Linked DNA regions of Homo sapiens: all the other regions are linked to region 1. Evidence: promoter capture Hi-C in 16 types of primary human blood cells and fetal thymus (Javierre and others, 2016). All regions are on one chromosome and are shown on one strand. The core of a region is centred on a gene start or on the middle of the fragment in contact, and the rest is flanking DNA. Distances in the headings are between cores, read along the strand shown.

The links. The method cuts DNA at HindIII sites, captures the fragments that hold promoters and counts their contacts. A CHiCAGO score of 5 or more calls a contact.
Region 2: a fragment that was not itself captured here is called in contact with the fragment with the promoter of RNF222 in region 1 in 2 of 17 cell types (M1 macrophages and monocytes); the score reaches 6.0 in M1 macrophages.
Region 3: a fragment that was not itself captured here is called in contact with the fragment with the promoter of RNF222 in region 1 in 6 of 17 cell types (naive B cells, megakaryocytes, total CD8 T cells and 3 more); the score reaches 5.6 in naive B cells.
Region 4: a fragment that was not itself captured here is called in contact with the fragment with the promoter of RNF222 in region 1 in 2 of 17 cell types (M2 macrophages and M1 macrophages); the score reaches 5.7 in M2 macrophages.
Region 5: a fragment that was not itself captured here is called in contact with the fragment with the promoter of RNF222 in region 1 in 5 of 17 cell types (M2 macrophages, endothelial precursors, M1 macrophages and 2 more); the score reaches 7.2 in M2 macrophages.
Region 6: a contact is called between a fragment that was not itself captured here and the fragment with the promoter of RNF222 in region 1, in 16 of 17 cell types (M2 macrophages, naive CD4 T cells, M1 macrophages and 13 more). The highest score is 11.0, in M2 macrophages.

What each region holds. Positions count from the first base shown.
Region 1 is chr17:8,394,838-8,399,274 of GRCh38, forward strand. RNF222 (ring finger protein 222) reads right to left here and starts at 2,990. Exons shown (of 3, transcript NM_001146684.3): 1 at 2,858-2,990. The HindIII fragment of the contact is 4,699 bases long and covers 488-4,437 here.
Region 2 is chr17:8,841,787-8,846,047 of GRCh38, forward strand. The region is part of intron 2 of PIK3R6 (phosphoinositide-3-kinase regulatory subunit 6); the gene reads right to left. Among named protein-coding and RNA genes, the nearest start is that of PIK3R6, 24 kb to the right of the region's middle. The HindIII fragment of the contact is 1,724 bases long and covers 569-2,292 here.
Region 3 is chr17:8,876,761-8,881,213 of GRCh38, forward strand. It overlaps PIK3R5 (phosphoinositide-3-kinase regulatory subunit 5), which reads right to left. Exons shown (of 19, transcript NM_001142633.3): 18 at 4,145-4,257; 19 at 2,156-4,026. The coding sequence ends at 3,879. LOC124903919 (a long non-coding RNA gene) reads left to right here and starts at 622. Exons shown (of 3, transcript XR_007065610.1): 1 at 622-1,544. The HindIII fragment of the contact is 927 bases long and covers 2,071-2,997 here.
Region 4 is chr17:8,669,046-8,673,371 of GRCh38, forward strand. It overlaps LOC105371525 (a long non-coding RNA gene), which reads left to right and starts at 1,537. Exons shown (of 4, transcript XR_001752781.1): 1 at 1,537-1,883. RefSeq lists an enhancer at 2,958-4,326. The HindIII fragment of the contact is 2,717 bases long and covers 1,487-4,203 here.
Region 5 is chr17:8,708,590-8,712,846 of GRCh38, forward strand. The region is part of intron 2 of LOC105371525 (a long non-coding RNA gene); the gene reads left to right. Among named protein-coding and RNA genes, the nearest start is that of CCDC42, 34 kb to the right of the region's middle. The HindIII fragment of the contact is 4,505 bases long and covers 389-4,257 here.
Region 6 is chr17:8,729,790-8,734,194 of GRCh38, forward strand. It overlaps CCDC42 (coiled-coil domain containing 42), which reads right to left. Exons shown (of 7, transcript NM_144681.3): 7 at 146-418. The coding sequence ends at 341. Among named protein-coding and RNA genes, the nearest start is that of CCDC42, 13 kb to the right of the region's middle. The HindIII fragment of the contact is 8,994 bases long and covers 1-4,405 here.

The DNA of each region.
Region 1 (4,437 bases), core at 1,740-4,239:
GTGTGGTGAGGTCCAAGTGTCCGCACTGAAAAGTTCCCAGTGTCACAACTGTGTAGCCTAAACTTATCTGGAACAGCTTCTTTAAAAAGAACCATGATTCCTTGTTATTGCTGCTTTCTTCCATCCATGACAGAGACAAAAGACCCCTGGACACACTGATAAAATAGAGTTGCATGGCAGCCCCCAGACCTGAGAGATGACATAGTGGGAACAAAATCAATGTGTAGGAAGGACAACTGTTAAGATCACAAATCTTTCAGAATCCCTCCCTCTCTTGGCTTGGCTCCAAATCTATTTTGCCGAGTTGAAAATGTCCCATAGTCAAAGAGCAAAAATATTTGGAGGTGGGATAAGGAATCTGGGATCCTGGAGGAGGCCCCCAAACCTCTTTGGGAGTTTCTAGCTTTGGTCTTTGAGATGGTCAATGTGGCCCCCAGGATGGGGGATGGGGGTTCAAATCTTTGATCTACCCATTACTGTCTGTATAAGCTTAGCCAAGTTGTTTAACCTCTCTGAGTCTCAGTTTCCTGTCCATAAGATGAAATTGATAATAATGGTATCATCTTCCTCGGAGAGTTGTTGGGGGAATTAAGTGAGCTAATGTGAGTGAAGAGTCTGGCTCAGAGTAAGTGCTCAGTAAATGGCAGTTGTCATTATTAAGACAGACCATGTCCTGTCCCCTCTTCTCCCAAAGGGGACTTGGAGACCCCTGTCACAGCTCTTGAGGCAGCCACAGCATTTGCCTTCCTTTCCTTCCCTCTCATCCCCAAATGTTCCTTAGTATGTGGATGATTAAAAAATCGCACCCACTTGACAGAGGGCAGCTCACCTCAAATTAGAATAACGGAACAAGATGACAATGGATAAGATAAGTGATGGGCAATGGATAATAATTTAAATGGTTATTCCAATCTTTCTTGGTAGTTATTTCATAACACATTTGCAAATGTTTATACCAAACAGCCATTATAATCAGGATGGGCATGATTTTCTTAAGCCAATCAACTATTAATATGTTTCCCTGCATTTCATAACTCCCCAGAGTGTATGATGGCAAGAGTTCCATCCTTCTATCCATCCATCCATCTGTCTAATTATTCGACACATATTTATTGAGCACCTGCTATGTGCTAGGTACTGACTTACATATTGGGGATAAGTAGTGGCCAAGGAAGTTCTTATAAAACTTTAGAGCCTAGTGGACATTTATAAGTTTTCTTGAAAAAGATATTTTTTTGAAAGGAGTATTGATGATCAATGGTTTAAGTTGTTTGGATAACTGAGAAGTAGAGACCAAGGCTGACAAGAAGAGCAAATAAGGAATACTAGAGGGAAAAAGGACTTTAGAGATCACTTAGTTGAAGCTCCTAGTTTCAGAGATGAGCAGATCCATGTCTAGAGAGAGGGAAGTGAGTCACCTGAGGTGACCGGTGAAGGTGACGGAGAGGGAGTTAACCGAGACAGAGAAGATTCCGTAGATGGTAGAACATTGTTAGAATCAGCTGATAGATTGGGTGAGTAGGTATTAGCCAAGTTAGAAAGCACCGTCCTCCTTGAGACGAGCAGGGAAGGAGAAGGAGAGCCTCTACTTTTCATCCGAGTTAGAGGAAAAGTAAAAAGGACCCAGGGAGTGCAGAAGACATCCGAGGCCCCAATGATGGCCTCTCTGGGCAATCCTTCTCCCTTCCAACAATGGCCTCTCTGGGCAATCCTTCCCTCTTACAACGATGGCCTCTCCGGACAATCCTTCCCCCTTCCAATGATGGCCTCTCTGGACAGTCCTTCCCGCTTCCAACGATGGCCTCTCTGGGCAATCCTTCCCCCGTCCCGTGCTTCCGGAGAGCCACGCCGTCAACACCTGGACGATGCTACCTCCTTCCCCACCTTCTTGCCTCCCTTTCTCAGTCTTTCCCTGACCCCTCCCTCTGCCTCTCTCGCTTTCTGAATCCCATTCCATTCCCCATCCTTGAGTTCCTCTTATGGTATGATTCTGTTTGGATGCTGGGGTGAGGGAGAGGGCAACAGAAGAAATGCAAGGAACATACTCTAGTTTGAGCACAAACGAGTTGAAGAAGAATGCAGTAAGTGCCAAAGCATCCCTGTTGGTGCCTTAGGAAACTGAGGGGAGAGGAGGGCTGGAAAGTATTCCTAGGTGAAGTGGGACCAGTATTGAGCTAATAATAAATAATTATTATTATTTACAACAGCGACCATTTATTGAATCCTAATTATATGCTTGGCATTTTGCATCCCTTCCTCTTCTGATCCTGACAACAAGGCTGGGGCGTAGGGATTATCTTCATTTTACAGATAAGGGACCTGAGGCTCAGAGCTTAAGACTTTGTCTTCAGACTTTGGTCAAAGGAATAGAAGAAATAGCACTGTTAGAAAAGTGACTACCCAAAGTTCCTTCCTCTTTAGGTTTAGAGTGACCCTAAACAAGGATGCCCCTCTGGCCACCTGGGAGGCAGGGGGAAGGCAATGGCTGGCCCAAGGGAGCTGACCTTGGGAAGCCCCAGTACTGAGCCTCCCCCACAGCAGTAGCCCATCTCCGGAACAGAGTGTGGGGGCAGGTGTCCCCACCCCAGAGAAAACACCCCCCATCCCCACCTCAGCACAGGAGCCAGTGGGACAGAATGATACTTCCAGGCACCTGGGATTCCCTCCTGGAGCCCCAGTGCAAGGTCCTATAGCTTTAGCTGTGACTAGTTGCTCACCCACAGGTATCTCTTTCTCTCTCTCTCTCAATTTCTCTCTCTCTCATTCTCCTGCATCCTTCCAATGTTGGCAACCTTCCAACATTGCCAAGCTCCTTCCCCACGCCCATCCAGGCCCCTAGACTCACTTTAGCTGGGACCGGAGAGAGCAGCATCCACCTTCCCTCCTGGGGCCTCCAGCAGATCTGAGCCACCCCGAGGTGCTGAGCAGCAGCACGATCTCCTCCTGTTGCTGTTAGTGTGACCGCCACCGCCGAGGCAATTCCTAATGACAGAGCAGGTCGGGAGGACAGCGCGAGGAAGTGAATGTCGCCCAACCCGTTTGAGGCCAGGAGGCTTTGGCGTTGCCCAGGGGGTTGGCAGCTGCTGGAGTCAGGTGATCTTGCTGAGGATGCCAGGAGAGGAACCCCCAGCTTGAGGAGGAGCCCAGGGGTGGGTGCTCAGGAGAGTCAGAGGGTCTCACAGTGGAGGCAGTGACCCAGGACCCCTTTGACTGAGGCTCCCCAGGCATGGGTCTCCCTATCAATAGGAAAGTCACCCACACTGTCCTTCCCACCCTCCTGGACCCATTTCTGTGATCCCCATCTTCCCCCCACACCCCTATCCTCACACCATGCACAGGGTGAAGGGGTCAGTAGTAGATCAGCCTCGGGAAGTCTATGACACTCAGAGTCATATATTTGTGGGATCTGCCTGTGTGCATTTGTCATTCATGGAACACCCAAAGGCGCTTAGAACTCCAAAGACCCAGCACCACTGGCATAAAGAACGAGGCGAGTAAGACCAGTGAAGCAGGAATGCACACAGATATGGAAAGAAGTCCCCGGCATCATGATAAATGGAAGCAACTTTCAGAACAGCCTGTGTAATACAATTCTATTTATGAAGATAATAATACATGATCATATTCATAGAGGAAAAGCTGGAAGAAAACACATCAGACTGTTAATAGCAGTTATCTCTGGAGAGACTTTCTAAGTTTTATATTTCTGTGATGTTTGCATTTTCACCCTGAATGTATGTTTCTTTTGTGATTAGAGAAAAAGTCATCCACTGGGTATGGTGGCTCATGCCTGTAATCTCAGCACTTTGGGAGGTTGAGGCGGGCAGACTGCTTGAGGCCAGGAGTTCGAGACCAGCCTTGCCAACATGGTGAAACCCTGTTGCTACTAAAAATACAAAAATTAGCTGGGCAAGGTGGTGCAAGCCTGTAGTCTCAGCTACTCGGGAGGCTGAGGCACAAGAATTGCTTGAATCCAGAAGGTGGAGGTTGCAGTGAGTGAGCCAAGATTGCACCACTGCACTCCAGCCTGGATGACAGAGTGAGACTGTCTCAAAGAAAAAGAAAAAGTCATCAAGAATAATGGAGGAATGAAGTTCGGGGAACTGGAAATCATTTTGGAGGATTCCCTCCCAGTCCTCTCAGGAGGTCCCCAAGAAACCAGTTTTCTTCTGAAAAAGTAAGTTACTGGGTCCAAGGCACAGCCCAGCATGTGTGTGACCCCATAGGATGACACAGGATGACCCCTCTTCTGTCCGATCAGTCATGGCCCTGGCTTAATGGACACCTTGAAGCTGGTGGGGAGGACAGTCAGGCCAGTGCACTCGGCCACTTCACCATGGACAGAGATCCGTGAGTGCAAGCCGTCGTCACAGTCTCTCTTGTTCTTTCCCTGGGAGTTCCAGGTGGTCCTAGATTAGCAAATGAAAATGCAGTATG
Region 2 (4,261 bases), core at 181-2,680, 450 kb after region 1:
CTCCCACTACCGGGAGTTTAATGGAACCAGGTCCCCAGTTGCTGTGCTGTTGCAGTGGTTTGGATATTTGACCCTCCAAATCTCATATTGAAATTTGTTCCCCAGTGTTGGACGTGGGGCCTAATGGGAGGTGTTAGGGTCATGGTGGTGGATGCTTCATGAATGCCATCCTTGCGGTAATGAGTGAGTTCTCATTCTATTTGTTCCCCTGAGAACTGGTTGTTAAAAAGAGCCCGGCACCTTCCCCCTCTCTCTTGCTTCATCTCTCAGCATGTGATCTGTACACACTGGCTCCCCTTCCACCAGGAGTGGAAGTTTCCTGAGCCCTGAGCCCCTTATCAGAAGCAGATGCTGGCACCCTGCTTCTTGTACAGCCTGCAGAACGCTGAGCCAAATAAACCTCTTTTCTTTATAAATTACCCAGCTGCAGGTATTCCTTTATATTATAGCAATGCAAACAGACTAAGACAGCTGTGAAATCCATCACTTTCTGCTGAGCCACGCCTCCCAGCCAAAATACACGGTATGGTAGTGGTTCTAAAGCAGGACCTTCCCCAGGAGACGCTCAAGCTTCTCCAACTGCCCTGCTGAGCTTTTCTTGGACTCCCATCAGTCCAAGGCATTTCCACTGACCCTTCTTCCTTTTCTCCTTCATTTGGAGTCAGATTTGCACCAGGGTCTGACAGCTGCTCTCCCAGGTCCCTCTCCATTTCTGTCACACAAGTGTTTCCCCAAATAAATCCTTGAACTTGGTGTCTGCTTCTTGGCAGATCCAGACTCAGACAAGAAGTACGGGAAACACTCCTCACACAATAAATTCCTCTTTGCAATTAGCTCCCACCAAGAGTTTGCCATTATAGGTGAGTGTGTATTCTCCAGTTGTCAGACAACACAAACCACATGCCCCAAGGGTTCCTCTTTGACTGGGCTATCAGGAAACTTACGGTCAAATTGGGGCCCAGCCTCAAAAATTAGCTCATCTCATGTGACAGGGATCTCTCTTCTTGGCTCCTTTTTGGTCCTCCTGCTTTATATTCTATTTAATCTATATCTGAATTGCTTCAGATTCCTTTGGAAGTAAGTAGAATAGAGATAACAAATTTAAAAATCAGCAGATTGCAGTCCAAGAGTTAAAATATTTTTAGGCCAAGTCACCATAGGTGCTAGTGCTCATGGTCTGGCCCCTCCTCAGACCCATGCAAAGCCTACGGGGTCCACATCCCTGAAGCCCCCACTTGGCAAGGCCTGGTCCTGAATCTCCTCCAGGCTGAGAGTGGACAGGATACTACAGCCACATCTGCCCACCTGGTCCCTCTGCTGGGCAGAGCATCATCTCCCCAGACTGTTGAGGAAATCATTTAGCTCAGCATGAAGGTTGGTCACAGTCTTTCCTCCGTCTATGCATTTCCACCTTGCATGAAGATTTAATGAGTTAATGCAGGATGAGTTATTAGAAAATTAGCTGGTGCTAAGTCTTTTTTCTCTCTCCTCCCTCCTTCTCTCTCTCCCTCCCTTCCTTCCTTTCTTTTTTCCTTCCTTCTTCCTCTTTCTTATTCTGTCTTCCATTGTATATTTGCAAAGAAAGGCTGAAAACTGTGACAAATGTGATTTCCTCTCATTCCCCTCATCAGAAGCACAGCCAAGCCTTTGTCTTCTGAGCTTGGGTCCCCTTGCTTTGCAAGGGAAGTTGAATTTTTATGTTTCACAGAAAAATAGAGAAGTTGCCAGTAGCCCTGGGAGACCACTTCAAATAAATTTTGTTTTTGAATGTCTGGGTAGCTAAAACAAACTCTCAGGCTTTGGTCCACATCTGGCTTGCTATGTGTTTTGTTTGGGCTTGTATAGTGTCTTAAAAAAAAAAAGCAATGAATTAGCTGCCAACATTTACAAGTCAGGAGATTTTGCATAACGTTTGGGTTTCTGGCATCTCTCGAAAATCTGACAATCTGCTGACACCGAACCTGGATTCTTCTCACATGTGACAATCATAGGGGGTGGGGAGCAATTGCCCCCTTAGATAGGCACAGCTTCTCTAGGTCTTTGTAGTTCCCCATGCCTCGGTTTCACTCATTTATATCCTCTGCCTGGCCCCTGGAGGCACTGAGTCTGAGGCTCCTGGCAAGTTGATTGAGCCAATCAAGCTGGATTGTCTAAAAAGGTGCAGAAGAAGGTTGATGCTTTTAAAGAGGAGAGTGGCCCAGCCCAAGGGTGGAGGTTGGATTCCCTAAGACTGTGAACGCACAAGGGATATAGGGTTCCAGGGAATGAGGAAAATCAGACCGGCTGGGACAAAGCTTACCAGTGGCGGCAAAGGTCAGATGAAGGCCGCTAAGCACTGAGCCCTGTGCCTCTGATGCCACAGCAAAGGTCTCCTGAGCCATCTTCACCAGAGCACGAGAATGTCCCTCAAGGCAGGCTCTATCTCCCTCTGCACCTTGCAAGTCTGGCCAAGCAGTTCTGGTGGCTGTAGCCACCGTGGACTGGAGACGACAGACTTTTCCCACTACCCAGACTTTATAAACCCTGAGCTTCTCACAAACTCCCACGTAGGGGGAAGCACTCCAAGTGAATGATGCTAGAGTTCATCCTAACCTTGGAATATGAGAGGTTGAAGCTGGTTTTGATTTGATTAAATGGAAGAAAGAAATGGGATATTTCCTGTGACTCAAGTGGCTCAGCATTGTTCACATATGGTATGCAGGTCTAACATCCTTGATGACTCGAATAGTCAATAGATAAATGGCATCCATTATTATTATCCTCCTCTGCATCCAGGAATGTGGGATATTACTAATTAGGTATTAATATTATTATTAATATTAAACTTTTTTTATTTAAAATTTTTTTAACTTTTATTTTAGGTTCAGGAGGTACATGTGCAGGTTTGTTACCCGGATATATTGCTTGATGCTGAGGTTTGTAGTATGGATGATCACATCACCTAGGTACTATGAGTACTGTTACTAATAATAGTACTACTCATATGAGTAGTACTAGTACCCACACTAACTAGTTTTTCAACTCTTGCCCCTTTCCCTCCCTCCCCATTCTAGTAGCCCCCAGTTTCTATTGTTGCCATCTTTGTGTCCATGAGTACCCAAAGTTTAGCTCCCACCTATAAGTGAGAACATGCAGTATTTGGCTTTCTGTTCCTACATTAATTTGCTTAGTGTAATAGCTTCCAGCTCCATCCATATTGCAACGAAGGATATGATTTCGTTCTTTTTTATGGCTGCATAGTATTCCATGTTGTATATGTAACACATTTTCTTTATCCAGTCTGTTGTTGACAGGCACCTAAGTAGATGCCACATTTTTGCTTTTGTGAATAGTGCTGCAATGAACGTGCAAGTGCATGGGTCTTTTTGATAGAATGATTTGTTTTTGGGGGGATATATACCCAGTAGTGGGATTGCTGGGTCGAATGGTAGCTCTGTTTTAAGTTCTTTGTGAAATCTCCAAACTGCTTTCCACAGTGGCTGAACTAGTTTACATTCTCACCAACAGTGTATAAGCATTCCCTTTACTCCACAGCCTTGCCAGCATCTGTTGTTTTTTGACTTTTTACTAGTAGCCATTCTGACTGGTGTGAGATGGTTTTGATTTGCATGTCTCTGATAATTAGTAACGTAGAGCATTTTTCCATATTTGTTGGCTGCTTGTATGTCTTCTTTTGAGAAGTGTCTGTTCATGTCTTTTACCCATTTTTTAAGTGGGGTTATTTGTTTTTTGCTTAATCAGTTGTGTAAATTCCTTATATATTCTGGATATTAGACCTCTGTTGGAATGCATACTTTGTGAATATTTTCTCCCATTCTGTAGGTTGTCTGTTTACTCTGTTGATAATTTATTTTGCTGTGCAAAAGCTCTTTAGTGTAGGCCAGGCACGGTGGCTCATGCCTGTAATCCCAGCACTTTGGGAGGCAGAGGGGGGCAGATCACTTGAGGCCAGGAGTTCGAGACTAGCCTGGCTAACACGGCAAAATCCTGTCTCTACTAAAAATACAAAAATTAGCTAGGCGTAATGATGATCCCAGCTACACAGGAAGCTGAGGCACGAGAATCGCTTAAACCTGGGGGGTGGAGATTGCAGTGAGCTGAGATTACGCCACTGCACTCCAGCCTGGGCAACAGAGCGAGACTATGTCTCAAAAAATCAAAACAAAACAAAAAGAAGCTTTTTAGTGTAATTAGGTCTCAATTGTCGATTTTTGTTTTTGTTGCAATTGCTTTTGAGGACTTAGTCATAAATTCTTTCAAA
Region 3 (4,453 bases), core at 1,284-3,783, 480 kb after region 1:
CAGTTTATATTTATATAGTGACATGTATTTATATTTATATATAATTTTCAGTTGTTATTTGGTGTATATAGCTTTATAACTGTAATACCTTTTGTTGGACTCCTTAATCTTTATGAAATGTTCCTCTTTATTTTTTGTAATGCTTCTGCTGTTAAATCTTTGGATATTAGTGTATTGACACCAGCTTTTTTGGTCCGGTTTTGCATCTTTGGATATTAGTGTGTTAACACCAGCTTTTTTGATCTGGTTGGTTTTGCATGGTGTGATTCTTTCCATCCTTTTGCTTTCAACCTTTCTGTGATGTTATATTTAAAGTGTGTCCCTTGTGAGCAGTTTATAAGTTTTTTGTTTTGTTTTGTTTTGTTTTTGAGATGGAGTCTCGCTCTGTCACCCAGGCTGGAGTGCAGTGGTGCGATCTCGGCTCACTGCAAGCTCCGCCTCCCGGGTTCAGGCCATTCTCCTGCCTCAGCCTCCTGAGTAGCTGGGACTACAGGTGCCCGCCACCGCACCCGGCTAATTTTTTGTATTTTTAGTAGAAACGGGGTTTCACCGTGTTACCCAGGATGGTCTCGATCTCCTGAACTCGTAATCTGCCTGCCTCGGCCTCCCAAAGTGCTGGGATTACAGGTGTGAGCCACTGCGCCCGACCGCTGCAGTTTATAAGTTTTTTTTAAAAAAGTATTATCAGACAATTCTGGGTGTGTGATTCCAGGTTAGTAGGTTTGTTTTTTCCCCTCATACTTTAAAGATATCATTTCATCATCTCTGGCTTCCATTGTTTCTATTGAAAGAGAGAGTTCTCAGTTTAATTGTTGCTACTTTGAAGATAAAGTGTATTATTTTCCTCTGTCTTTAGTATTTTCTTATTACCTTTTTTTCTTTAGAAGTTTGACAGTAAGGGGTGTGTGTGTGTGTGTGTATGTGTGTGTGTGTGTTTAAGAAAAAACTGAACTCCAGATTGTATTGGGATTTTACCAGTTTTTGGATTAATGTTTCAGGATACAAGCCAGTGTCTACTGCTTATTTTTCAGGTTTACTCCATCTCTTTTTGTTTCTCAGTCTTTCCTTATTTTTTGTGACAGTAAGAGAGTACTGGTCAGGTTATCTGGTCCCATAGTCTGGGTTTATATGATCTTTTTTACTCTTGATTAGACTGGAGTTATGGAAAGAACATCAAAGGTAAAGTGCACTTCTCATGTGATTTTGTTTTTTTCTTGTGTGGAGATTCCTGTGTCAAAATTCCTGTGCAAAATTTGCTGGGTTTATTAAGTCTGTGGGTTGATGTGCTTCATCAGTGTTAGCCAATTATTGGCAGAAGGAATATTGTTCTTGTTCCAGGTTCCATTCCTAGGAGGCATCGCGTGTCTCTGCTTGCCTCTCATGCTGGTCCAATGTGTCTGAAAGACCAACGAAGCAGATCTGCACCCATCCTGCAGCTTGGAGCCAAGCCACTCTGAGCCCAGCCTAGATCAGGTGGTCCCTAGATGTCCTCCAGATGCATGAGCAAGAACAAATGATCGGAGACTTAGTTCCCTGAATTGAAGGTATGCTTCATTGTTTGCAATAGCCAGCTGATGCAGAGCTGGAACAGCTCACAGTTCTTTCTCCCTCCATCCTGAATAGTGTTCTGGCAACCTGGTACTTACCTCCCTCTCCCAAGCCACAGGTGTCCTCTACCATCCCTCCACTTCTTCTTCTCTCTTTCCTTATCACCCAAGTCTAAAGGCAGTCCCAGATCCAAAGGGCCATTATTGAGCTCTCTTCCCCTCCTCTCAGCTGCATGGTAGGTCCAGGATCCACTGTGCCACCCATCCGCAGCAACGGCCTCAGGCCCGTCCCCTCCCTGGAGCTTGGGGTACAGGAAACAGATGGATATATGGGTATATATTTCTCAAGTGAAGTAGCACAGGAAACCCCAAATGCTGAGTCCTTAGGTGTAGGAATTTTTGTTCTGTGGGTCAGTGAGTATGATGAGGCTTAAGCAGAACAGTATTGGGGAAAATTTTCACCCAAATATATTTTCTATAGGGTGGAAAATTACAAAAAGAGAAATAAAACAATCCCCTATGAAGCTTCTTTCTGGTATAAATAAAATGATTTATATAAACTGTCCAACTAGCAGGGTCATGCAGCAAAGTAACTACTGGTCATTAAATATAGGACAAATCAAGTTTTATTTGACAATAATATTAAATTCCACTCATTAGTTCCTGGACATCTGTTGATCACATAATAAGACAACCTGCCCATACAGCAAAAACATATTGAAGATACATGGCCCGCCACTCTTCTGGAGCTTAGAGCAAGAGCAGACATTAAGACAGGGGAGAGACGGCCAGGCAAGGTAGAAGCTGGCTCTGTCCACGTCTCTCAAGTCATGAGTACTCTGGGCTGGAATTTCACGTAAGGCCTTTTGGGCATAATGAATTAGGAGGCGGGGAAGAGGGACTTTGTGCAGGATACAGTTCATGCTTCCGTGGCTACTTTCTCCACATCAGTCCAGATCCTCGTCTTGACTTCTGCCCTATCTCTCTAGCCCATGTTTGCTTCCAGCTTCTCAAACCACTTCAAGCTGGTTGCTTTGAATTTCAGACTCTCGTGTCCTATCCTAGGCTGACCATTTCCCATGCACCAGTCCCATTTCCCCTGAGTCGGGCACTAAGCTCTGTGAGGCCAGTCACTCCATCCTCTGTTCTGGGATCTTGCCCAGGTGCCAGAAGAGTGCCAGTGAACTTGCGGATATGGAAGATTGTACACGCAGAGTGAGATGGGAGTGGGAGGGCCAATCTGATACAGAAGGGGGTGAAGGGTAGGGCCCCTGAGCAGCCCACCCCTTACCCTGACGAAGGCAATCCTCCTCTGGAATGTCTCTTCCCTCTTCAGTCTGGGTTCTGCCTCAGCCACGAACTGGGAAGGAGTGAGGAACATCCCAACGGCAATGAGAGTATCCCAGTGACTCCAAACAGGAGGAATCAGTGTTCAGAAAGTCAGGCACTAAGCTTTACTGAACACCTACTGGGAGCTCGGCACTGGGCTAGGTGCTTTGCAGACAATTTAACCTTTTAAGGATGTCTTATTTCCACCCCAACTCTCCACTCCATTTTAGTGCTGGAGAAATGAAGGCTTAAAGTTAATTAACTTCCTCTAGTGATTTAGCTAGAACTGAGCTGCTACTAAATTTAACCCTATCCTGTCTTCTAAGAATCTCAGATTCCAAAAGGAGATCAAGAGAGAATCTGTGCCGGGTTCTGAGAGTAGACAGGTCCAGCGTTAGTGCTGTTTTTCTGGAGACTCAGGAAACTTGAGAGAAATTATTGAGGTGTGTGCGTGTGTGTGTGCGCATGTGCGTACATGCATGCCATGTGTGTGTGGTGTTTGCAGGGAGAGGTGGTCTTGAAGTAGAGAAATGTTTCATCCACATTTCAATCACCTGAGCCCCACAGAGGAGGGGACTGAACTCCAGACATACAGGGTCCTCAAGTCTTTGGCAAAGTAAGGGGTAGGCTCAGCCAAGGTTGAGAGAAAAGGCCCAAGCCATCCCCCTGAGCACCAGAGCCTCAGATCTTCCTTCTAGAAAGGATCCTAGACCATGCTAATGGTCAGGGACTTCAGAGGTCAATTTACCCATCCTTCTCCTTCTACTGCCAGGAATCTAAGAGGCTATGGGGTCTGGCCCTTCTCTCTCTGATAGCTGTTGCTTTCCCAGAACCCTGAGGCCCCAGAAACCCTCTACTCCCAGCCCCTGCTCATTGCAGGACCCACAGTGGGACTATGGCTCTGCACAGGGCCATTCAGTTCTCCACAGAGAGGGACTGTCCTGGAGGGGTGGCCGAGGAGGTTGCCCCAGGGCTTCTGTCCAGTCTGGCGCTGGGCCCACACTAGGGCAGAGCTCCACTGAAAGTCATGATGGGCAGGCAGAGAAGGGAGCAGAGATCAGGTGCGGCCTGGGCCGGCAGGTCAGGAGGCGTCTGGGGTGGTGAGGAGAGGTCGCTCTTCTCTGGCTTGTAGCACGGTGAGACCTCACATCTGTGCAGCAGGGCAGGGGCCAGGGATCAGAGCAGGCCCCCATCCTTCCAGCTCCTTCCAGGCCTCTGGGTTGGTGGGAGCAGAAACTGCTCCCCTCCCTAGGACCCCCCTTTCCTACCTGACTACACTCTGCAGGATCTTTCTCTCATCCTGGTCCAGGCACACAGCAAAGGGGCAGCTGTTGGAGCCGATGATCTGCACCTTGTCCACTTTGATCTGCGATGTGCTAATCTGGAAGGAAGGCCCAGGTCAGCCCCAAATCCCTGGCCATCCAACACTGCCAGCCCCTGGCAGTTCCTTTTCTCAGAACTGCCCATCCACTTCTAGGGGTGTGGGAGGGCAGGGGTTTGTCTGACTGCGCTCCAGGGTTAATGGCCAGGTCACAGGAGGGAGCCTGAGGCCTCCATCAGCCCCTGCCTCCTCTCCA
Region 4 (4,326 bases), core at 1,595-4,094, 270 kb after region 1:
CATTCCCTTTCCCCACTTGCACAGTTGTTCTTGAATAACCGGGCCTGGGGAAACGTCAGTGGGTGAGTCAGGTTGCTTTAGGCTGTCATCATCCTACTGCCTTAGGGGACCTCTGTCAGTCTGGGGGCAGAGATTTGACTCTAGCAGTTTTTCCTGCATCTTCCGCTCTCTGCTCCCAGTCTTGGACAAGACTGCATTACACATCTCCCCAGAAGAAACAATACTTTTAGAAATAGGGCCGTCCTACAGCTCTGCCCTCAGGAAAGATAATCATTTCTGTTATTAGGCAGAACACAGCAGTCCCCATTCCACAACTGGATGTTGACTTTATCTTTACAGAATCAAAGGCCCATTAAAGTATTTTCCCTAAATCAACACTGCAAGTTGCCCACAGGCTAAAACCCCCACCTATGCCTAAACATAAGGACTGCTGTGCATTTAATATATCAGTTTTTCCTGCACAGAATCATCAAACTTTCGTAAAATCCAGGGCTTCAGTCTTAGCCAAGATCTCACCAGCTCCCCCACTGCCATACATACCACTGGGGATTCATCCAATGAATAGACTGGAAATCTTTGTATGAATGCCTTGCTAGATTTTTTGGTTCAAAACACAGTGATGCTTCCATTGGACAGCTCTGGTGGCGCTGAATGCAATGAGCTTTCCGGATAACTGAAGCTTATCTCTACAAAACCCAACACTTTATTTTATCCATTTTGATTGGAATCTGTCAAAACTGTCACAGCACAGATCTATGCCTGCTCTTTTTTTGAGTTTTTCTGTCTCCTTTGTCTTCAGGCTACCATATGGGTTGACACTGTGCTAACTGTGTCTACTTCTAGCAGCCCCTCCCTATTTTTTATTCGCAGTGGAGAAGGATGTGTTAAAAAAAAAAAGAGTAAACAGAATCACAGGGCCTTAAGACTTTCTTGCAAGTAAAGTTCTTGTGTTTTTTTTTTTTTTTGTTTGTTTGTTTTTTTTTTGAGACAGAGTCTCTCTCTGTCCCCTGGCTGGAGTGCAGTAGCGCAGTCTCAGCTCACTGCAACCTCTGCTGCCCAGGTTCAAGCAATTATTCTGCCTCAGCCTCCCAAGTAGCTGGGATTACAGGCGTGCGCCACCGCGCCTGGCTAATTTTTGTAGTTTTTTTAGTAGAGACGGGGTTTCACCATCTTGGCCAGGCTGGTCTTGAACTCCTGACATCATGATCCACCCGCCTCGGCCTCCCAAAGTGCTGGGATTACAGGCATGAGCCACCGCACCTGGCCGCTCTTGTCTTTAGAGCAGGACATTGTGAAGGTTATTCGAGGGGCTTAAAAGGTTTTGTTTTGGTTCATGGCCTAATTTTAGCTTTCCGTCTTTCTGAAAAGTTAAGATTTCTTCCCTTCTGAATAAGTGGGATGTTATTATAATGAAATGCACAAGTTCCTTTAGAACATGCTATGGCAAGCTATCCAAGTTAGAGCTGTTGCTGAGGGAACCAGGCAAAGCTTGCTTAATGTATAAACCTGGTTATTATATTTAAAATTCAAGCAGCAGCCAGAGATTCCTATCGGGAGAGGGAAGACTTTACTTTTGAAGAGGAAAAGTACTTAACTCCTAGAGGAAAGCGTCATTCCTGAGGTTTACCCTCATGGTCTGGAGACAAACACGTGGGACTTTTCTTTTTTGTGTGTGTTTCTAATAGTGGAAGAAAAGGAAAGCCAGGCTAAGCAGAGAAAAGTGGAAGAGGAGACACAGCAGCTCATTCTTTCCCAGTAGCCGTTAGACTGATTGCGGAGGGGAAGGTCAAAAGAGAAGTTCACAACTATGATACCAGCTCTAGAGGCGAAAGAACAACTGAGAGAGAACTATCCAAGAAGTGTTTGGATCCCGAAGCACAAAGGTGAGGAAAGAGCAAAATATGGCTTTCCCTCATAAAAGAAAATACAGCTGACCTCTGAACAACAAAGTGGCGGGCGTGGGGCGGGGGCGGGGGGGGGGCGGTTTACTCGCGCCGACAACCACGCAGCTGAAAATCCACGTACAATTTTTTTTTTACTCCCCCAAACTTTACTAATAGCCTTCTGCTGACTGGAAGCCATGCTGATCACATAAACAATTAACACATATTTTGTGTGTTATATGTATTATATGTTGTATTCTTACAATAAAGTAACCTGACTGGGCACGGTGGCTCACGCCTGTAATCCCACCACTTTGGGAGGCCGAGGCAGGTGGATCACGAGGTCAGGAGTTTGAGATCAGCCTGGCCAACATGGTGAAACCCTGTCTCTACTAAAAATACAAAATATTAGCCGGGCGTGATGATATGCACCTGTAGTACCAGCTACTCGGGAGGCTGAGGCAGAAGAATTGCTTTAACCTGGGAGGCAGAGGTTGCAGTGAGCCAAGATCGCACCACTGCACTCCAGCCTGGGTGACAGAGTGAGACTCCGTCTCGGGGAAAAATTAAAAAAAACCATATATATATATATATATATATATATATATATATATATATATATATATATATTAGTAAGCCAAAGGCCGGGTGCGGTGGCTCATGCCTATAATCCCAGCACTTTGGGAGGCCAAGGTGGGTGGATCACTTGAGGTAAGGAGTTCAAGACCAGCCTGGCCAACGTGGTGAAAACCCATCTAAAAATACAAAAATTAGCCGGGTGTGGTGGTGTGTGCCTGTAATCTCAGCTACTTGGGGGCTGAGGCAGGAAAATCGCTTGAACCCAGGAGAAGGAGGTTGCAGTGAGCTAAGATAGTGCCACTGCACTCCAGCCTGGGCAACAGACCCTCTCTCAAAAAAACAAAAACCAAAAAGCCCCCAAAAAACCCAATAAAGTAAGCCACAGAAAATAAAATGTTATTAAGAAAATCGTAAGGGGCCAGGCACAGTGGCATACGCCTGTAGTCCCAGCTACTCCGGAGGCTAAGGCAGAAGAATCGCTTCAATCCAGGAGGCGGAGGTTGTGGTGAACCAAGATCACACCACGGCACTCCAGCCTGGGCAAAGGAGCTATACTCTATCTCAAAAAAGAAAAAGAAAAAAAGAAAAAAAAGAGAAAAAAATCATAAGGAAGATAAAATATATTTGCTACTCCTTAAGTGGAAGTAGATCATCATAAGGTTCTTCATCCTCATCACCTTCACATTGAGTAGGCTGAGGAGGAAGAGGAAGAGGAGGGGTTGGTCTTGCTATCTCAGAGGTGGAAGAAAATCCACGTATATGGTGGACCTGCACAGTTCAAATCCGTGTTGTTCAAGAGTCAACTGTAGGTTAAACAATTAAAACGTCGAGGTCAAAGGATGAAGACATTAAGTTATCCTCGTCTCAAGCTAATGTCTCCTTCCCAGACTTCTCCCTCCCGCCGCCCTCACCCTCACCCACCACCCTGATGCCTGTGGGAGGGGAACCACAATAGGCCAAAGAATCCTAGATTTCAAAAGATCACCCAGTTTGTCATGGTTATTTAACCGTTGCAGAAACCAAGGCCCGCAGAGCTCAGGGAGGAATTCGAGTCCTCACTCCTAATCCAGCATGCTTTCCCACTGTATCATCCAGGGCAGGGACATCCCTGGAAAATTCAGCAATGTTCTCACTTAATAGTACTCCGCCCCCAGACTTATACAGAGCAATCTTTATTTATTTATTTATTTATTTTTTTGAGAAGGAGTCTTGCTCTGTTGCCCAGGCTGGAGTGCAGTGGTGCAATCTCGGCTCACTGCAAGCTCCACCTCCTGGGTTCACGCCATTCTCCTGCCTCAGCCTCCTCAGTAGCTGGGACTACAGGTGCCTGCCACCGCGCCTGGCTAATTTTTTGTATTTTTAGTAGAGACGGGATTTCACCGTGGTCTCGATCTCCTGACCTCATGATCCGCCCACCTCGGCCTCCCAAAGTGCTGGGATTACAGACTTGAGCCACTGCGCCCGGCCGAGAGCAATCTTTCCAAAGTTTGCTCCACAAAACACTAGCCCAGGAGATGCTCTATCATCCAGCAATTTCACTTCTGAATCGAAGTGGGGACTGGAACAGATATGTATGCTCCCCTGTTCACAACATCATGATTCACAATAGCCAAGAGGAAGAAACAACCCTAATCTCCATCAATGGATAAGTGGATAGATAAAATGTAGCATATACATATGGTCCTACAATTATTCAGCCTTAATAGGAAGGATATTCTGACACTTGGTGCAACACAGATGAAGCTTGAGAACATTATGCTAAGTGAAATAAGTCCAACATAAAAGCACAAATATTACACAATTCTGCTTATATGAGGTAGCTGGAGTAGTCAAATGCATAAAGACAGAAAGTAGAATGGTGCTT
Region 5 (4,257 bases), core at 1,391-3,890, 310 kb after region 1:
TCCTTCCAGCTAGAGATGCTAATAATGAGATCGAACAGCTCCTTCTTCTTCTTTAAAAAATTCTTAGGGCCAGGCACGGTGGCTCATGCCTGTAATCCCAGCACTTTGGGAGGCTGAGGCGGGCGGATCACGAGGTCAGGAGATGGAGACCATCCTGGCTAACATGGTGAAACCCCATCTCTACTAAAAATACAAAAAATTAGCCAGGCGTGGTGGCGGGCGCCTGTAGTCCCAGCTACTCGGGAGGCTGAGGCAAGAGAATGGCGTGAACCTGGGAGGCGGAGCTTGCAGTGAGCCGAGATCGCGCCACTGCACTCCAGCCTGGGGGACACAGTGAGACTCTGTCTCAAAAAACAAAACAAAAAAACTTAAGTCTTTTCAAACTAAAAGCTTTGAAAGAACTGAATATCACATCTCTTCTCTCTTCCCTGCTGCCTTTAAAATGTGTTCTTATTTAGAAAGAACCCCAAAGCAACTCAGGGTGTATGTGGAAGGAGCAAAATTTAAACCCCTAGCTTCCCCTCCACACCCAGCCTCAATCTAACCCTGCATGGACTAGGCCTCACTCCCTTCTAAGTGGGCACTTCAGAGCAGGAAGGCTGCAGGTTATCTACCAGAGCAGACACTTCCTGTTAGCTCAAGCCAAATACTCTCCTCCTTGGCCAACTCGTGGGATTGGCAGCAACACTATGCTGATGCCAGTGTGCCCCAGAGATTAGCCACTTTTGTCCCCAAGTTTTATGGTACTCTACTATGAACACTCTCATTGTGCTTGAATGGACTAGGGGCTCAAAGGCTCTATTCCCATGTGGGCTCTAGCCTCCACTTATTTTTACCAACTGAGCTCTTACCATCTGCCTTTGCCATTTGCTCTAAGAGGTCTTGGAAGGTAAACCTCTCAGAGTAACAATTTCTTCATCTATAAAATACCATGTGTGGGCCGGGCACGATGGCTCACACCTGTAATCCCAGCACTTTGAGAGGCTAAGGTGGGCGGATCATGAGGTCAGGAGATCAAGACCATCCTGGCTAACACGGTGAAACCCCATCTCTGCTAAAAATACAAAAAAAAAAAAAAAAAAAAAAAAAAAATCAGCTGGGCGTGGTGGCGGGCGCCTGTAGTCCCAGCTACTTGGGAGGCTGAGGCAGGAGAATGGTGTGAACACGGGAGGCGGAGCTTGCAGTGAGTAGAGATCGTGCCACTGTACTCCAGGCTGGGTGATAGAGCTAGGCTCTGTCTCAAAACAAACAAAAAAAAACCACGTGTGTCAAATTCACCCATGTGATGTTTCCCGCATTTATATCCAGCCCCTATTTCCACAAATGCTACCTAGGTCAGGTCTTCATTGTGCCTATGGAGGTCTCCTCATTTATTGGGCTGCCTCCATTCGTCCACAATACATAGGGCTAATCTTCCTAAAGCATGATTTTGATCAAGTCACTCTCCTGCTCGAAGCCTTTTCATAGCTTCCCATTGCCTGCAGAGCCAATTCCAAATCACTTAGCCTGGTTTCAAAGTCATCCACCATCTGGCCTCAGCCTATCCTTTTTGTTCATTCTTGTCCACCTACTTCTTCCAGCTGTTACATAAACTGTCGCCTAAAGCTGCCTTCTTACATATTTTAAGTGCGGCCTAAAGGTTTCTCCATACATAGTGAATTGTAACCTAACTGGATGTGTAAATAAGTCTGTAATCTACTCTTCTACCAGTCACAGAATTCCAACCAATCACAGGCGGCCCACTGTTCAAGCCATAAAGATGGCAGACACTGAGCTGTAACCAACCCTGCTGTTTCTATACCTCACTTTCCTTTTCTGTTTGTCACTTTCCTTCTTCTGTCCATAAATGTTATCCAACCATATGGCAGTCTCGGGAATCGCTCTGAACCCATTCTGGTTCGGGGGCTGCCCAATTCTCAAACGTTTTTTCTTCAGTTAAACTCTGTTAAATTCAATTTGTCTAAAGTTTTTCTTCTCACACAGCAAACTGAACAATCACACTCCAGGTTTTCACGTCAATGGGCCCTCATTCACATGCATCCTTTAATCTGAAATGTCCTTCTCCACATTTCTGCACATCTAACTTTTACCCTACTGATCCCCATAGCCTAATTATTAGCTGTATGATCTTGAGCAAATTATTTAAACTCCATATCTGAAGAAGATCGTTTCCAAAGATTGCCACAGCAATCGTTTCCATCCTGTGTGCCCTTTGCAAGGTGAGTTTGCCACTTCTCCATGTCAGTTTCCTTTCCGTTTGAATCTTTGCTGGCTCTGTGACATTCATGAACCCATCAAATGTGGTGGACATGATGCTATGTCATTTGCAGCTTCTGTTTTTGTACTCTGGGAAGCTGGCCACCATATACAGAAGTTCTAGCTATCCTGCTAGAGAGAGAGGTCACAGAAAGGACAACTGACATGCCCCAGCTGACAGCTAGCCCCACAGCCCGAGTCAACTGAGTAAGGCCATTTTGATCCTCCAGCTCCAACCAGGGCTAACACCGCAGCGTAGAGATGAACTGTTTCCACTAAGCCCTTGCTTGAGTTTCTGAACCCCCAAATTGCGAACAAATAAAATTGCTGTTTTAAGCCACTCAGTTTTGGGGTAGATTGTTATGTAGCAATGGATAATTGAAACAGACTCCTCGCCTACAAAATGGGGATAATAATGGTCTCCAGCCTCACAGAAGGACTGCGAGGATTAAGTGAGTCAATCTATGAAAAGCTCTTAGAATAGTGTCTGCACATGGCAAGATCGCAATAAACACTAACTCCTCACGACCTCAAATTAACTTAATGTTTTCTTGTTTCTTGTTCATCCCTAAGTCCCTCTCGCAGCAGTGCCTGGCATACAATAGGTACTCGGCAAACACAATTGGATATCAAACGTCCCCTTCCTTAAGCCTTCTCTGATGACATTCCATCAGCTTGCCACCACCCCTCCCTCTCCTGATTCCCACTGCACTTTATCAACTCTTCCCACAATGTAGGCTACCTTCAGCCTGGAACCCTGGCTGGTATGTCTCCTTGGTAGATGGTGAGCTTCTTGAAGACAATGACATTATTCATAATATATAAACAATAATGAATGAATTAATTAAAAATGGGAACAAGGCCAGGCACGGTGGCTTATGCCTGTAATCCCAGCACTTTGGAAGGCCGAGCTCAGCGGATCATGAGGTCAAGAGATCGAGACCATCCTGGCCAACATGGTGAAACTCTGTCTTTACTAAAAATATAAAAATTAGCCAGGCATGGTGGCGCACACCTGTAATCCCAGCTACTCGGGAGGCTGAGGCAGGAGAATCTCTTGAACCTGGGAGGCGGAGGTTGCAGTGAGCTGAGATCGTGTCACTGCACTCTAGCCTGGAGACAGAGCCAGACTCCGTCAAAAAACAAAAAACAATGTCACCTCCCATACCAGCATAACCAGGTTGGTTGTTTGTTTTTTGAGACGGAGTCTGGCTCTGTCACCCAGGTGATCTTGGCTCACTACAACCTCTGCCTCCTGGGTTCAAGTGATTCTCCTGCCTCAGCCTCCTGAGTAGCTGGGATCACAGGTGTGCGCCACCATGCCTGGCTAATTTTTGTATTTTTAGTAGAGACGGGGTTTCACTATGTTGACCAGGCTGGTCTCGAACTCTTGACTTCAGGTGATCCGCCTGCCTTGGCCTCCCAAAGTACTGGGATTACAGGTGTGTGCCACTGTGCGCGACCGCAGGTTTGTAATTCAAAAGAGGTGATGAATGACTCAGGCGCTCCGACATGCCTTCCAGAGCATATCTAATTTTAGATGGTGGCTTCTCTGTCTTCCTGGTCCCATCTGTGTGACTTTTATACTTTAAGGCAGGAGAGAATCCAAACAGGACTCCTGCAGAAAGTCTATTTACTGTCCTAAGAGTTGGTTGACCTTGAACTCTGGAAGTACAGGGTGTCACAAACCTAGGAAGGAACTAATGACTCCCAAGTCTGTTCCTATGGCTGACAAATGTCTGAAGTTCCTCCAGTAGATGAAAAACAGCTCATTCCTAAGCCATGATTTCTTCAGAAATCATTTTATTATCTCTAAGACTTGTGAAGTCTAAAGAGAGTAGAATTTGAAAGAATGTTGAATTCCATCTGGTTCAAAGAGCTTTAGTGTTAGACATAAACAACTTTACCAGTTTGAAAAACCAAAGATGAGCAAAATCAAATCAGGTGGTAGAGCTTCCTGGGTAGGGGTGTAACATACAACTTAAATCTAGGTGTCCTGGT
Region 6 (4,405 bases), core at 629-3,128, 330 kb after region 1:
CCAAAGGTGAGGGGACACCAGACCTAAGATGTGGTTTCTAGTTCCCAGGCAGCCTAGGTGACCAGCTTTGAGAGTGAGTGCTTGTTGGGGGGGTCCCCCGTCACTGCACTCTTCCCCATGAATAAACTACCAAAGGGCTAGAGAGAACTTGAGAACAAACTTCATATAACATTCACTGTTTTCAGGGATAGAGTGAGGCCCACGGGGGAAAATAAGCAGGTGTCCCTCAGCAGGAAGGCACAGCAGGCATCGGTCCCGAGCTGGACTGACTGGACCGCAGGCTCACGACTTCTTCTTTCACGATCTCTGTCTCAGGACATTCTGGAACAAGGCTGCCTCCTTAAATCCGGACTCGCTGTTGTTCCTTCTTTTTCACCTCTGCCCAGATGTCCGACCGGTCTTGGATAAATTGCTGGATCTAGAAAGGCAAGGAGCCCAGCGTTAACTCCGCCCCCCAGAGGCCTCCCCTGTCCCAAGATGGAGCATCCCAGACATTCACTTGTAAAGAATTCATCATTGCTTTCCTGTGACTGACTTCTTTTTAAATTTTTATTTATTTATTTTTTTGATACAAGAGTCTTGCTCTGTCACCCAGGGTGGAGTGCAGTGGCACGATCTAGGCTCACTGCAACCTCCGCTTCCTGGGTTTAAGCAATTCTCGTGTCTCAGCCTCCTGAGTGGCTGGGATTACAGGTACTTGTGACCATGCCCAGCTAATTTTTGTGTTTTTAGTAGAGATGGGGTTTCACCATGTTGGCCAGGCTGGTCTTGAACTACTGACCTCAAGTGATCCACCCGCCTCAGCCTCCCAAAAGGCTGGGATTACAGGCATGAGACACTGCACCCAACCATGACTGACTTCTTGAGGAGGCCACTTTCTCTCATTTGACAATGTTTTGAGGTGAAATTGAGTGTTGGGTGTAGCCGATGAGAAGCAACAAAACAGGGATGGAGTTGGGAACTCCTGAAGGCAGACCCTGGTGATGTATGAAGTCCAGGCTGAGAGTCAAGCAGGAGGGATAAGAAAGAAAGGGTCACAAGCAGGCTGGTGGATGAAAAGGATTTAGCAGGCAGGGTTCCGTCAGCATGGGCAGACCGCCTTCCACAACTTCACCGCCCTCAAGGTGGTCGTGCATTCGAAACCCAGAGCTGATGCTCATCATGATAACCTTGAGTCATGAAAAGGAATGTAAATTCTGTTCACCGCCTTCTGTTTTGTAAAGAGCACGCAGTCAGCATGACACGGAAGTCATGCTCCAGAAGTCAGATGACCTAGCTGGGCCCCCGTCGCAGGTCTGGGGCAATCACTCCATCTTTCTGGAACTCAGTTCTTCATCTTTAATAAGGAGAGAGGGAGAAAAGATTGGCCCAGACAGCCTCTAAGATATCAGTTCTAATGCAAACCAAAACCACAGTGAGATACCATCTCACACCAGAATGGCTACTATTAAAAAGTCAAAAAGTTACAGATGCTGCTGAGGTTGTGGAGAAAAGGGAACGTTCATACACCGTTGGTGGAAGTGCAAATTAGTTCAACCATTGTGGAAGGCAGTATGGTGATTCCTCAAAGAATTAAAATAGAACTACCATTCAACCCAGCAGTCCTATTACTTGTTATATACCCAAAGGAATATAAATCGTTCTATCATAAACACACATGCATGGGGATGTTTACTGAAGCACTATCCACAATAGCAAAGAGAATCAACCTAAATGCCCATCAATGGTAGACTGGATAAAGAAAATGTGGTACTTATACACCACGGAATACTATGTAGCCATAAAAAAGAATGAGATCACGTCCTTTGCAGGCACATGGATGGAGGTGGAGGTCACTATCCTTAGCAAACTAACGCAGGAACAGAAAACCAAATACTGAGTGTTCTCACTTATTAGTGGGAGCTAAATGATGAGAACACGTGGACACAAAGAGGGGAACAACACATACTGGGATCTGCTTGAGGGTGGAGAGTGGGAGGAGGGAGAGGATCAGAAAAAATGACTATTGGATACTCGGCTTAATACCTGAGTGATGAAATAACCTGTACAACGAACCCTTGTGACATGAGTTTACCTATATAACAAACCTGCTTGGCTGGACGCGGTAGCTCACGCCTGTAATCCCAGCACTTTGGGAGGCCAAGGCGGGTGGATCACGAGGTCAGGAGATCGAGACCATCCTGACTAACACAGTGAAACCCCATCTCTACTAAAAATACAAAAAATTAAGGCCGGGCGCGGTGGCTCAAGCCTGTAATCCCAGCACTTTGGGAGGCCGAGGCGGGCGGATCACGAGGTCAGGAGATCGAGACCACCCTGGCTAACACGGTGAAACCCCGTCTCTACTAAAAATACAAAAATTAGCCAGGCGTAGTGGCGGGCGCCTGTAGTCCCAGCTACTCGGGAGGCTGAGGCAGGAGAATGGCGTGAACCTGGGAGGCGGAGCTTGCAGTGAGCCGAGATCACACCACTGCACTCCAGCCTGGGCGACAGAGTGAGACTCCGTCTCAAAAAAAAAAAAAAAAAAAAAAAAACCTGCTCGTGTACTCCTGAACCTAAAATTAAAAAAATAAAAAAAGGATTTCAGTTCTAAAACTTCTCCTTTTCAAGGCTGTCTCTGGAGATGGAACTACACAGACTTTGTCCAAAGCTCTCAACAACTGTCAGCTGCTGATACTGTTACCATTACCAATATCATTCCCATTTTGCAAATGAGAAAACAGAGAGTCAATGAATTAAAGCAGCTTTCCCAAGATGACAGAGAAGACAGGTCAGCGTTTCCTGAGCTATGTTCTCATAATAAGTGGTCACATGCCCCAAAGGAGTCCTGTGGTCAAGTCAGTTTTAGAAACGCTGTCTGCTGGGAGCATCTCAGGGCATAGAACTATAGCAAAGACTCCAAGTCCTGTTTGTTTTTTTAATCTCATCTTCGTTTAATTTAGAGTTTCTAAATGTATTAGTCTATGGAGTCCTTTTATTCCCCCTAGGAAACAATAGCTCAGGAGATTCAGTCTGGAAAGTGCTTGTTCAGATAGTTTGGCTTTTCTTCAGGGATAATGCCAAACCTTCCATGACACACTCGAAGGAATTCAAATTGACTTGGCCTTCTGCAGAATCGCTTTTCCTAAGCTGTCCTGTGTACCACGTTCCTTGTTCTCTATAAGCAGCTGCCTTACAAAGCCAGTGCCTGCATTGGTTGCAGGGATGCTGTTGAGAACATTATTCATACAGTGTCAATGAAGCCTCATCGAGAAATTTCAGTGAGAACTAAGTGCTGGGAAAAGGCACATTGTCTCGGAGGAAACCTTATTTTTTCTTATTCTAGTATAAGAGCTACAGGTGGCTTTTCATTCAGGTTACCAGCAAGCTCAGAAACAATTACTGCCCCTGTCTAAGACCCTTAAGAACCAAGGGCAGTCTGTATTTCTCTCCATCCTTGACCTCTGATTTCAACTTGTACTTTCCCAGGTCCTTAAGTTTAAATCTGTAGGCGACTCGGTCGTGTATTTCCGTGAGTAGGTTCATCTCCTACGGGAATGAAGTGAGATATTTTCTAATAACTTTTGGGCAATCTGAAGTTCTCCTGTAGAGGTGAATCCAAGTTGAGAGGGATTCAGAAACTCAAAATTTGGAGTGGATGGACTAGAAGCCATGGTCTCAGCAGGAGATGTGCCTGTGGGAGTGAGCTGCTGGAGGGCAGCATCTCCCAGTGAATCTTGAGATGAAGTCTTGCTCTTGTTGCCCAGGCTGGAGTGCAATGGCACGATCTTGGCTCACTACAACCTCCGCCTCCCAGGTTCAAACGATTCTCCCGCCTCAGCCTCCCGAGTAGCTGGGATTACAGGTGCCTGCCACCATGCCCGGCTAATTTTTGCATTTTTAGTAGAGATGGGGTTTCACCATGTTGGCCAGGCTGGTCTCAAACTCCTGACCTCATGATCCACCCGCCTCAGCCTCCAAAAGTGCTGGGATTACAGGTGTGAGCCACTGTGCTGGGCCCTCCCACTGCATCTTTCTTTACAACAGCTAAGGGCAAGGGCCTGAGGACCTCCGGGAGGCTGAGGGGAGGGGGCCCGAGGATTTCTGGAGTCTCTGAGACCCTATTGTGGGTCATAGGGGTTTTTGAGGCCAAAACTCTTTTTACGATAATATTAAAATGTTATTTGCCTTTTTTTCGCTCTTATTCTCTCATGAGCACACAGTGGCATTTCCCAGAGAGGAGTTTCCATGACATATGCTGTCACAACAGAATGAACGCAGGAGTGGACATGAGCACCGGCCTGTCCTCTGTTAAACTAGACATTAAAGGGATCTGCAAGTGCGTCAAACAATGCCACTCTTCTCACAAAACAGTTTTGAAACTTTTTTCCATAAAAAATGCTATTTCTGTTAACATACTTTTTAT